2 separate regions of the Homo sapiens genome follow, and region 1 is linked to region 2. The links are contacts of gene promoters, found by promoter capture Hi-C in blood cells and fetal thymus (Javierre and others, 2016). All regions are on one chromosome and are shown on one strand. Each heading gives the region's core, a stretch centred on a gene start or on the middle of the fragment in contact. The rest is flanking DNA. Distances are from core to core; before and after follow the strand shown.

Region 1 (6,743 bases), core at 1,847-4,346, 2.4 Mb after region 2:
TCTGCATCATCTGCTAGCTTTGTGGTACCACTGTCCACTTCATATGTCTCTGGGTCTTTCTTCTTTTTCTTCTTTTTAGGTTTTTTAGCAGCTTCCTCAGTGCCATTTTCTGTAACTTCTTCAGAAACTTCAGAGCGCTTGAATTGTAAACTATAAATTAACAGTTAAAAAAATTAACAGAACAATAAGCAAAAAACAAAGAACAAATTGAGATCAAGATATCCCAACAGGCTAAGATTTTCTAAATAATGACTCCAGTACAAGACACATAACCATGGCATAAATTCCAAATATTCTATCCTGTTATCCCTCAACCCACTAAAATATGTATGGGCTGCTGAATGTTAAATTGAAAAATGTTAAATTTAACATTAAATGTTAAATTCTTTCTTTATGAATAACTTCTCCCAGACTGTTTCCACACATAAAAATGACATAAAAATCTTGTCAAAACATGTCTTCCAAGTTTTGGGTTGTTTCAGAAAAATTTGGTCACTGAACATTAAACACCACAATACCTAGGCTTATTAACCAAACCACTGACATCTAATAGAAAATATGATCTGGTATTTATCAAAGCAATGGAGTTTCCAGTCTACTATTTTAATCTTGTTTCAAATAATAGTCCATTGTTCTACTTAGCTGATACTAAGATAGTATTACTTTAACATTGTGAATTATTTTACACCACTAAAATAAAACATGGATCGATGAAGTAGCTTTCTCTCCAGAACTTCAGTCTTATACAGTAGCACTAGGCACATGTACCTAATCACTACCAAAAACATAACTTTAGAAATTCAGTTCCTCAGTCAGACTTAGTCATATTTCAATGCTCAATAGTGAGGCTGCTGTACTATGTATATAAACTGTATTTCTGTCATTACAGAAATTGAACAGCTGTTCCAGAACTTCAACCCATACTCTTGTAACTTTAAGGCAAAATACAGAAAAAATTATTAGCAATAGCAGCATTTTAAGAGTTGTCTCTCTCCTTCTTCCTTTAAACTTGGCTCCCATGGAATCAAGCTCAAGATCAGAGTTAATTCTTATAATAATTTCTATACAGAATAATACAGAAATTAAAATATCTGGCACAGAAGACAATAATCAACACAATTTTTTGTGTGTAAAAACAAAGCAGGCCAATAGTTAGGAAGGTAATTGTGCTTTCAGTAGTTTCAAGTTTAGAGGTCAACTTTAAAAAAAAAGTTAACAACAAAATAGAAAATACTCAGCAAAATTGAACTATTAAATATTAAAATACAGACCAGTTAGCTAGTCTGTGTTTCAGAATATTTATTTGATGCACTGTTACAGATTACTTAAGAGTATTGTTTATATTGACTTTATGGTTTGAAAGCATGAATATTCCTATAAACAGGTATTTTTAGAGAGGCTTATTCTCTTTAAAATTAAAATAAAATTCTCTTTAAAATTCAGAATTAAATAGAAATTAAGTACCTAGTGATAATTACGTAATGATAAACTAACCTTGTGATATTTAGTTTTCCCCGAATGCAGAATACTCCAGCAGCATCTGAGTCTAAACGAAATACTTCAAATTCTAGTTCATCACCCATGTTTATCTCCATGGTTTGCCACTGCTCAGCTGACAACTGCTCAGGTTTAGGAATGGAGGCATTGAAACACCCATGTACTAAACAGCCAATGTGGCTAGAAGACACTTTATTAACTATACCCTGGGAAGAAGAAGGAAGAAAGAGCGTAACATAAAGAACACATCCACAAAGTTAAAAGGTGAACCAAACTTTACAAGCTTCAAATAATCTTCAAAGAACAAACATCAAATTAATGGTCTAATTTAATATGGAAAAAGTTTACCTCAATTAAAACTTACCACATGTCATGCCAAAACATCACTTTAGAATACCACTGGGTTTTGAGAAAGCTCAAACTTTATTATATAAGTAATTGCACATTAACTGTCTAACTGGGCACATTAACTTTCTAACTGGATAAACTAACCTGCCCCCGCCACCCTGTCCAAGAAAAAAAACCATCTCAACTCCCCACTGCAGGATTCCTTAGGGAGGACAGTATTACTCTTTAGCTACATTGAAACCAAGCAAACCCCATATAACTTCTAAAAAGACCTCATATGCGTTTTATAACTGGGATCCATGTTACGTTTCTGTAAATAGACCAAATTTCAAAGCTTAAAAATGCATTCTTTAATTATTTAATTTAGCATGATGCAAGCATTCCATTAGAAGACAGCTTACCCTTTAAATGTAAATATTGACCATGACTATTTTTTGGCTAAATCACGAAAGTATTATTAGAAGCTTTAAAACTAAAACAAAAGTATGTGCTATATGATTTTAAGATGAGACTTTGCATAAAACTTATTTTTCTTCTCAGGGTCAATATATACAAAGCATATAAATGAGACTCAGAAATATTAAAAATTCACATTTTCTGAATTATGAAACTGCAAATAATGCCGATGTGTATACAATGCTGTTTAACATCAGCAACCCTTTACACATGTGACAGAATAAAACTTCCCTATCTGGTATGATCAGAAGTCTAGTGTTCCCACTGGTAGTTTCCAGATGGTCTAGATAAACAAACTGGTACAGCTATAAAATAAAAGATTATTCAGTAATAAAGATAAATAAGTTCTCACCATAAAAAGACATAGCGAAACCTTAAATGCATATTGCTAAGTGAAAGAAGTCAATTTGAAAAGGATACATACTCTATTCTTCTTCTTTAAAAAGGCAAAACTACGGAAACAGTAAAAAGATCAGTGGTTGCCAGGGATTACAGGGAACGGAGGGAAGAAGGGAGAAATGAATAGGTGGAGCACAAGCGGTTTTTAGGAGAGGATAACTATTCCGTATCATACTATAATGGAAGATAAGTTGTTGGGATTCACTCAGGATAGTGGCAGAAATATTAAAGGGAAATATTAGGGAAAGTTATAGGGAATAGTCACAAACCTTTTTGGAAGGCCAAAAGGTTACATAGCTTGTAATAGCTGAACAGGCCGAAGACAGCCGGTTCTTACCTTAGAGCATTAAGTTACAGAGTAAATACTAGGGACAATAGAGGCTTCCCCAGTTAAGTCTGTTTACCCTACCTCTGTTAACTAACCTTTAAGTCAGATGGCCTCTGGGGGGGCAGGGATATTGCCCCCAGTGATATTTACTTTAAACCTCGGTACCTGAGCTTTAATCATTCATAGAACTACTCACTTAACCATGTTAATTATCCAAAAGTGTGTGGACTCAGAGCTTCTGTTGTTAATTGTATACGAAATAAATGCCTGGAGTGTGAACTACTCAGGGCCAGCGGCAGTGACAAACCTCTCTCGGTGTGTAGGCAGTCGGACACTCAGCAGTACTGGCAAAGCAATATCTGTGTGTCAGTGTACGTTTCATTCATCCATCTTTTAGGTCAAGGTCTGCAGGCAGACCCCCGCAGCTAATGCCCTCTTGTGAGGAGCAATACCTCAATAAATGCCATGACACATTTGTGGAAACTCATAGAATGTACAACACAAAGACTGAACTCTAATGTAAACTACAGACTTTACTTGATAATAATGTATCAATATTGGCACAAAAATGGTAACAAATGCACCATACTAATGCAAGTTAATGTTGATAATAGGGGAAAGGGGGTGGTTATATGGGAACTCTATACTCTCCATTCAATTTTTCTGTAAACCTAAAACTGCTGTTAAAAATATGTCAATTTCAGAAAATCAATGAAAGAAAAGGTTTTTTAATATATGAATCCAGAACAACGGGAAAGCTACATGAAGGAGAGAGTGGATCTCAAGGCCTACCTCACACTACACACAAAAATTATTTGAGAATGATCACAGACTTAAATGGAAAAGCTAAAACTAAAAGCTTGTAGAAGTCGACAGAACAGTATCTGCACAACTTTTCGGCAGACAAATTTCTTTGATAGGGTCCAGAAAGCAATAGTCATAAACATATAAAATGATAAATTGGACCTCATCAAAATTAAAAGTAACTGTTCATCAAATAATACCATTACAAGTTAACAGACAAGTCACAGATTGGAAGAAAATATTCAAAATACTTATCTGAAAAGAATTCATTTTAAGACTAAAAAGAACTGCTATAAGTCAATAATAAAAATACAAAAACCCAATTAAAAATGGGCAAAATACTTGAACAGGCCCTTCTTACTGAAATATATGAAAAATTGCTTATGAGGGAAACGGAAATGCAAATTAAAACCATAATGAGATACTACTATATGCCCATCAGTACAATTAAAGGACAATAGCAAATGTTAATAACGATACAGAGTAAATGAAGTGTTGAATGGGAAATCAGTCTGACAATGGTTTTATATAAATACCCTGTGAACTAGCTCTTCTGCTTCTAGTTATTTACTTAAGAGAAATGAAAATGTATGTTTTCATTCATATGTCTGAAAATATATGTTTTCAATAGCTTTATTCATAAAAGCCCCAGCCTGGAATCAATCCATCAATGAAGACAGATAATTATATTGTGATATAGTCATATAACTGAATACCATGAGCAATAAAAAGGAACAAACTACCAATACACACAACAGCATGGATGAAACTCAAAAACATGCTGATCAAAAGGCGGCAGATTTTAAGAATGTATAATGAATAATTCCATTAATATGGAACTATAGAATAAGCAAAACCAACTTATGATAAAATCAGAAGAGTAATTATATCTGCAATAAAGAGAAGGAATTGGGCCAGGAAAGGGCATGAAGATCCTTTCTAAGGAGATGGAATGGTATACAGACCTGACGAAATTCACTGAACTGAACAATATGATCTGTGCATTTTATTATATGTAAATTTTATCTCACCAAATATTAATAATAATAATTGAAGGAAAAGTGGGTGGTCAAAAATATTTGAGGAGTGGATCTTGTAGTAGGTAGATTAAAAGGGATATTTTTCATTTCATACTTTTTCTACAATCTGTTATTTCCATGTACATGTATATATGTTATTTCCGTGTATGTGTGTGTGTATTTTTACAGACAGGGTCTCACTGTTGCCTAGGCTGGAATGCATTGGCGCAATCATAGCTCACTGCAGCCTTGAACCCCTGGGCTCAGGTGATCCTCCTACCCCAGCCTCCTGAGTAACTGGGACTACAGATGCATGCCACCATGACTGGCTAATTTTTTATTTTGTGTAGAGATGAGGTCTCACTATGTTGCCCACGTTGGTCTTAAACTCCTGGCCTCAAGTGATCCTCCTGCCTCAGCTTCCCAAAATGCTGTGATTGTAGGTGTGAGCCACTGTGGCTGGCCTACATGTTTATATTTAAAATAATAATTTACACAAAGTAGATGAAAGTTAAGTTTGTTAATTTCCAAATACAAATCTACTGCCAACTTTAGTAGTCCAGTTATAAGATCCCAGTTTAACAGGCAAAGGATACTACTTGTATTAATTTGATATTGAAAAATGAAAAAAATTGGAAGTGTCTTGTGGGTTTTGTCATGGTTAAATTGATCTATATTTTTATGAACAATATCAAGGGTTAACAGTTCTGATCTATTAAAATATTTATCAGCTAAGGAAAAGAACATATACACACACATACAAGTATACATACGAACATGTGTATACACACAGAGAACTGCTGGAGGAAGAGAGGAGAAAGTAAAGAGTAAAAAAGGATCTATTTCAGCAGATTTTGTATCAATATCTGCATTTCCAGCTTATGAAAAACTGGAAGACCTTTCCCACAGAGCTTCCATTTCCAAGGCACAGACTGGCTGCCCTGTCCTCTGTCATTGATAAATTTTCATTACTGCCTGGCCCATTTGAATTCCTGTTTCATATACTGCTATATTCTTTGAATCCTTTATAAAGAAATAGTATTTGTGTAGAATTGAGAACTTTTGAAATAATAATGATAATTGATTTTTTTGCCCTTAAAATCATTCTGCTACTATGAAAAGAATAAAGTGGATGGGACATATATCGTGTGCATGTATGTGTTTTAGGAGGATATTCAAAAACTTACCTACGTTTGAATGATACAAATTAATTTTTCCTTAAAAATAATATTTATTTACTCACAATAGCAATTTATTTGAGTCCCAAGGTATATATTATCTCTTAAAATGTTCCAAGTTACATAATTATAGAATTATACAAAGGGAGCTAGAAAAAAGTGATACACATACCATAAGCTTCTGCCCTGGTTCAGGGCAGAAAATAACAAAATCGGCTTCAATGTTAAGATGAATGTGTCCTTGATCATCATAAATATCTCCAAGCTCTCCCACAACTTTGATGTTATCATATGCAATAGGGACACCTAAAAGGCTGTAAAAAGAAAAAGTTGAAAATGATACCTTTTATCGTCTTTTATTTATTTATGTTTTTGGAGACAGGGTCTTGCTCTGTCACCCAGGATAGGGTGCAGTGACATCAACAGGGCTCACTGCAGCCTCGACCTCCTGGGCTCAATTGATCCTTCTGCCTCAGCCTCCCAAAGTGCTGAGATTATAGGTGTGCACCACTGCACTCTTTCAAACCAGGCCATTTTCATACTGATTAGATATTCTATCCAAAACTTACACATCTCCTAAATACACCACCTATGTCAAAAACAATAGTATATGATTAGTCTGTAACAACTTTAGTAGTCCCATTTCACCAATGGATTCTGATGTGTTGGCTAAGTTAAAATGATGACTCAAGATACACAGAAACAAAATGCCCA
Region 2 (6,091 bases), core at 1,229-3,728:
TGCTTAGTGAAATGAACTGTGATAGAATAGGTTTAGCATTCATTTTGATTATTTTCCTTTATTCAAGAACAGCTGATATTTATAATAGCATTCCTAAAACATTTTTCTCATACTATTTCGCAGGAGAAAGAAACCCATACACATACAGCTGCATCTGAAACCTCAGAAACTAAGCTCAACCCAATTGATTAAAAGGATGTTCTTTGGATAAGGTAATCAAATGTTCACCGACTCTTATAGCCAAATTAATTATTATGAGATAAAAATCACGTAACTACAAAAAAAAAAACTGCTCACAAAAAAGTTTTTAAATCTTAGCAGATGGACACAAACCATACTTTGAGAACCATGTTCCACAGTGCCAATACAGGAAGTTTCTAGATAATGGCAGCTCATTTTTTAAAAATGGCACTACACTATACTGTATTCACATGCCAGCAAAACTGTTAAGGTAAGTTCATGTCACTATTAAAATAAAATGAATTCTGGGAATTTTGTTGATATTCAATTTTAATCTTAATTATGCAAAGATCTGTTACTTAACTAAGACTATGTAACATAATATAGCATATGACTTCTGGATAATGAAAATAATCCTAAACTTAACCATAAAAAAATAAGGGTATGAAAGTCAAAATAAGGTAGAAAATGACTGCACCAAATAGCCAACAACCTTAAAAAGGGTAGGATTTTTTTAAATCACTAAATTAAGATTGGTTCATTGCATTTAGTACATCTCTTTTATGAAGAGGAGTTATAAGCTACAGAATCAATAAATTATGTTTTGATATAAATTTTTCACCCTTAAAGTTCCTAGCTAGGAGGAAATTATTCTTTTACACTTACACGTTTTAGATAGAATGGCTATAAGTAAGCACAGATAAATGAAGAAATGAAAGAGAAGGGAAAAATAGAGATGGTTGATTCTGCCTCTGCAATTGCTAATTCATAAACATCAAACTTTCCCAGTGTACACTGTCTTCTTTGGGAATTTGCTCCATCTTTTTCCTTAAACTGAAAGGTGGCTTACTGAGGCTATCACTTTCCTAAAGGTCTCCCCAATACTGCCTAATTATTTTCTCTTATCACAGGATACAGGGTGGATGTCCATCTACTTCCTTGTTGTCACTTCCCAGATCACTTTCACTTTATGCTCTTCTAAAATTAAAACAAAGATCATCGACCACAAAACACAATTGTTCTTTTGTAGCTCATGCTAGAATACCCTCTTTGTTACATCTCCTTCATTTTTCTGATCCAAAATTTAGTAGCCTACTATATCTCACCCACTGTCCTTCTTTCCTCCAGCTATGGTAGAGAACTGCTCCTCCAACTTTATGTACATTTGAATCACCTGGGAGTTCCTGTGAACTTCGGGTTCTGATTTAATAAGGACACCCAAAGAGTCTGCATTTCCTGTAACTCTCAAAAGAAGCTGTGGAGTACTCTGAATAGCAAAGCACTGTAAGTGCTGTTTCTGTTAGTATCTAATCTATTAGTCCTAATCTCCCATTTATGCTTTGGCACTCATTCCCTCCTGCTTTCGGTATCTTAATATCTATCATTCCTTCACTCTTCCCTCAGGTTCCCTACATAGTTTATCTCTACCCCCTCTAAGCCGCTCAGTATCGCCCATTAAAGAACTAAACCAAAACTAGAAAACCCTCATTTAACCCTTCACTCCCCCTACATACAATCTGATGTGTCTCTCATCCACAGCTAAACTTGGAAGAAAAATTGCCTGCTTGAGGATGCCATTTTGTTATCTTCAGCTCAATCCTGTACCCACTTCAATGTTATTTGCAGGCCCATTACCCCAACACTGCATTCACGAAAGTCATCAGTGACTACACATTGAGAAAACAAGAATGACATTTTCAGTTCTCAACTAATTTGAATTTCTCAACAGTATTCAATATTGTTAATTACTCCCAATATTTTTCCACATGGTCCTCCATGACACAATACATAATAGTCCCCTTATTATCTATATTCCTGTCTATTGTAAAGACTTCCCCCGCACACCAAAAAAGGTCAAGGAAACTCCTAGCCTTCAAGTCTCAACTCAAATCTGGCCTTCTGAAGCCTTCCCAACTAGGAAAATATACAGTCCCATTGGTTGTCTACCAGTTGTCTACCAGTTAATTGTAATTCTTAGCCACAAGTTAGCTGACCCACCGTCTCTCAAACAGGTGAAGTTAAGCTCAATATTTGGCATATCTTGATATACTTTGTACAGTCTAGCTACAATAAGTTTGCCTATGCACGAAGATGGCTACCGGCGGGGGGGGGCGTCCTTACGTCCTACGTCATCACGTGCCGGGATGAGGGTGGGGCCCTCAAGGAAGACGGAATGGAATCCAGATGGGCGGGGGCAAGCAGGACGGGGCGGGGCTACGCGGGATCTGGGCGGGGCGGGGCCGGTGAGGGGTCGGGGGTGCTCCTGCTATTCAGCCGGTGCGCGCGGCGGCGGGAGGCAGTGGCTGGGGAGTCCCGTCGACGCTCTGTTCCGAGAGCGTGCCCCGGACCGCCAGCTCAGAACAGGGGCAGCCGTGTAGCCGAACGGAAGCTGGGAGCAGCCGGGACTGGTGGCCCGCGCCCGAGCTCCGCAGGCGGGAAGCACCCTGGATTTAGGAAGTCCCGGGAGCAGCGCGGCGGCACCTCCCTCACCCAAGGGGCCGCGGCGACGGTCACGGGGCGCGGCGCCACCGTGAGCGACCCAGGCCAGGATTCTAAATAGACGGCCCAGGCTCCTCCTCCGCCCGGGCCGCCTCACCTGCGGGCATTGCCGCGCCGCCTCCGCCGGTGTAGACGGCACCTGCGCCGCCTTGCTCGCGGGTCTCCGCCCCTCGCCCACCCTCACTGCGCCAGGCCCAGGCAGCTCACCTGTACTGGCGCGGGCTGCGGAAGCCTGCGTGAGCCGAGGCGTTGAGGCGCGGCGCCCACGCCACTGTCCCGAGAGGACGCAGGTGGAGCGGGCGCGGCTTCGCGGAACCCGGCGCCGGCCGCCGCAGTGGTCCCAGCCTACACCGGGTTCCGGGGACCCGGCCGCCAGTGCCCGGGGAGTAGCCGCCGCCGTCGGCTGGGCACCATGAACAGCAGCAGCGCCAACATCACCTACGCCAGTCGCAAGCGGCGGAAGCCGGTGCAGAAAACGTGAGTGTCCCGAGCGCGTCCTCATCGCGGGGGCTGGGCGCTCAGGCACGCGGGTGCGGGAGGCAGCCCCACCCCGCCCCCAAATCCCTGCGATCCTGGGATTAGGTCCATTCCCGGCACTGCCCGTGGAATCGAGGTTTGGAGGCCGGCTGGGAGACAGAGGACTTGGATTCTCCCGTTTTCAATGATTGCATTTTAAAAATTGTCCTCCCACCCATCCTCTTCCCCCGCACCAGTGCATACACACCCTCTCACATTTGCAACTTTGTTCTTTCTGATTTGGTCCTGATTTGTTGACAGCTCTGATCTGCCTTGGGCTAATGGATTAGTTAGTATAAACCTGTCTTGAAATCTCCTTCCACTTTTCATATCCGCATGGGTTAGGTTAGAGGACGGTCTTAATTCTCATTCTTCGTAGAGTTTGGTAAGGCGAGATGTTTTAAAGAGCTAAACACATGCTGACTTTTACGAAGGGGCTGAGTGCCTCTAAAGGTACTTTTTGGTCCCCACCAACTGGCTTTGTGTTGCGCTCATATTTACTTATTTGGCAGCAATTTTGTAGCGCTCATCGTGACCATATCGGTAAAGTGGATAGAAGTGGTAGCAGGTGGGAGTGGATGCAACGGACAGGATACGGTGGAGGATTTGTATTCTTCAGACATCTTTTTCGGAAGCTTGCTTATCACTTTTGGGGTGGCTTTAGGGTCTGTAAAATAAAAGATTTAGAACTGCATTTGAGAGAGGTTTTCATTCTTAACATCTACCTCTAATTCTTTTCCCCTTCAAAGTTTTCTTCTAGTTGAGTGAGTACAAACTTGCTTTTGTCGTTGTCGGTTGATTTTGGTGGAATATTTGTGTGAGATGGCCAATTTTTTGTGTGTGTCAGAAAAAACTATCCGTGCTCAAAACATTTCCTGTTGTGAGGTGGTTGTATTCATGTGTTTATTCCAATTTTTTTATTTCTAGATCTCTGAGTTACTTTACCTACATGTGTTTCAAGTTTTCGTAAACAATTTTAAGAACTCTTAAACGTCTTCTCAGACCAAATCAGAAGTGTGCATTTTGCTTAGACTCCAACTATCACTAATGGGAACCAGAAAAATAACACTTTAAGATTTACATTTAAAACCAGTTATTGGTTTAAAGTTTCATTCTAAAATTTTAGTTTCCTTTCAGAATTTCAGTTATCATAGTTCTTCAGAAGTATACTTATGAATTGGCATTAACAGAGGATAATAATCTATAAATAGACTGATGAAAATTTGGAAGTTTTATGGTACAGTGTGTCTTAAGGGAATATTGTCAAACCAGCAGTTTTCTACCTTGGCAGTTTGAGACATCGGTTATTAATACTTTTAATTTTGTAGAATGGTTTCTTATATTAAAGTATGTTTGTCTTATTTGACATTGTCATTGATGGTTAAAGTTGGGAGGCATCCCAAATGTCTGTTCTATGTGTTTATTAATATAATAATACACTTAGCATCATATATAATAGGGGTGTCATGGGTTTTATGTGTATGGTGAGAAAACATGAAGATCTCCCTGATGTGTTTTTAAGATACTGGGTTTCAGTTAGGGTGTTATCAAAGGACCTGGATGGCTTTGTAAACAAAAACAAATGCCATAATTTTGTATTCATTACACAGTTTAACATTTATGGATTTTGGTTATTTTGCGTAAAATGTACTTTTTATTAGATTATCCTAATATTATACTTACTTAGTTTTTAATATACTTGTATTAATTTCTTATAATATAACAAAAGTATTTTTTCCATTCACCCACATTTTGTTAGCATAGATGTTTATCAGATCTCTGCTGAGCACCGTATATTGCTTCTAATCATACAGATGCCTTAAATATTACCAGCTTGCTCTGTAAGAATAGGCTAGTGCTGGCATTTTCATTATCAAGTGAAAGTGTTTATATAAATTATTTTTACCTGAATGAAAAATTGTTAACTTTATAATGCAGTTAATCAAAGTTTATTTTAGAAATGAAGTCATTAAACCTAGTATTAAATTTGAGTTTTAAAATTAAACTACCAGTTTGTGGCCTAATGAGCCCCAAAACATGCCAACATTGGGGAAAATAGATCTTGTTTTGAGCTGAAAATGCTATCCAGACCTACTTAACTTTGACCTCTTAAATGAGAGCCATTTTATTTTATTTACAGATAAAATATGCTGTAGCATTATTATAGGACTGTTTAAAAAGACAGCCAATTAAATATAAATTTTATGGAATATAAGTATTCCATAAAATTTTGGAGTAAAGTAGGTGACAATTGTAACCTGAAGCTCTTTCAATCTTGAGTTGAATTTATTAAGAAAAATCAACCCCCCCTAGTGGCGGCTCTCACATTGAAAATTATCTTTATTAGTAGGAAATACATTTTAAATGTGTTCAATTTAATCCCACTGAAGTATCTCCAACATAGTAGACTCTCAATAAATATTTCCTTTCTTTTTGGAGTAATGAAGGTTGGGAAATTAAAGGCTCTGAAGCAACTTTACGTCCAATTCATGTTCCTACCTTCAAGAAGAAAATATCAAAGATAACTTTCATTATAGAATCTACTATAACTTTGCTTAGACTGTTGCCCCATACTTAGTGACCCTACTCAGAAAAAGAGAACAAATCCTGTGTTTATTTTATTCTCTTTGGAAATGAAAGTGTTTATTTATTTTGTCTCATGAAGATAGTCAAAAAGGCCATTATATAATTAAATAGAATGTTTTTCCCTAGTGATAATTTTGTATATATTTTTGTATTTTTAAGGTTTTAATCATAAAGAAAAAGTTGTAATGGATTTCAGCTTACCTGTACATAGAAAGTTAGCACTGAATGTTGGCAAATAATAGGTGTTGAGAAAAGGGGATCTACACTTTAAAATGATACCAGCTGTAGTGGTGATTAAGCCATTATGAAG

The links. The method cuts DNA at HindIII sites, captures the fragments that hold promoters and counts their contacts. A CHiCAGO score of 5 or more calls a contact.
Region 1: a contact is called between a fragment that was not itself captured here and the fragment with the promoter of AHR in region 2, in 1 of 17 cell types (total CD4 T cells). The highest score is 5.3, in total CD4 T cells.

What each region holds. Positions count from the first base shown.
Region 1 is chr7:19,698,578-19,705,320 of GRCh38, forward strand. POLR1F (RNA polymerase I subunit F) reads right to left here. Exons shown (of 4, transcript NM_001002926.2): 2 at 6,202-6,343; 3 at 1,495-1,703; 4 at 1-150. Among named protein-coding and RNA genes, the nearest start is that of MIR3146, 3.5 kb to the right of the region's middle. The HindIII fragment of the contact is 1,578 bases long and covers 2,308-3,885 here.
Region 2 is chr7:17,296,174-17,302,264 of GRCh38, forward strand. It overlaps AHR (aryl hydrocarbon receptor), which reads left to right and starts at 2,479. Exons shown (of 11, transcript NM_001621.5): 1 at 2,479-3,156. The coding sequence starts at 3,092. LOC101927609 (a long non-coding RNA gene) reads right to left here and starts at 3,147. Exons shown (of 12, transcript XR_007060234.1): 1 at 2,887-3,147. RefSeq lists silencers at 2,754-2,903, 2,954-3,063, 3,104-3,153. The HindIII fragment of the contact is 6,297 bases long and covers 1-3,828 here.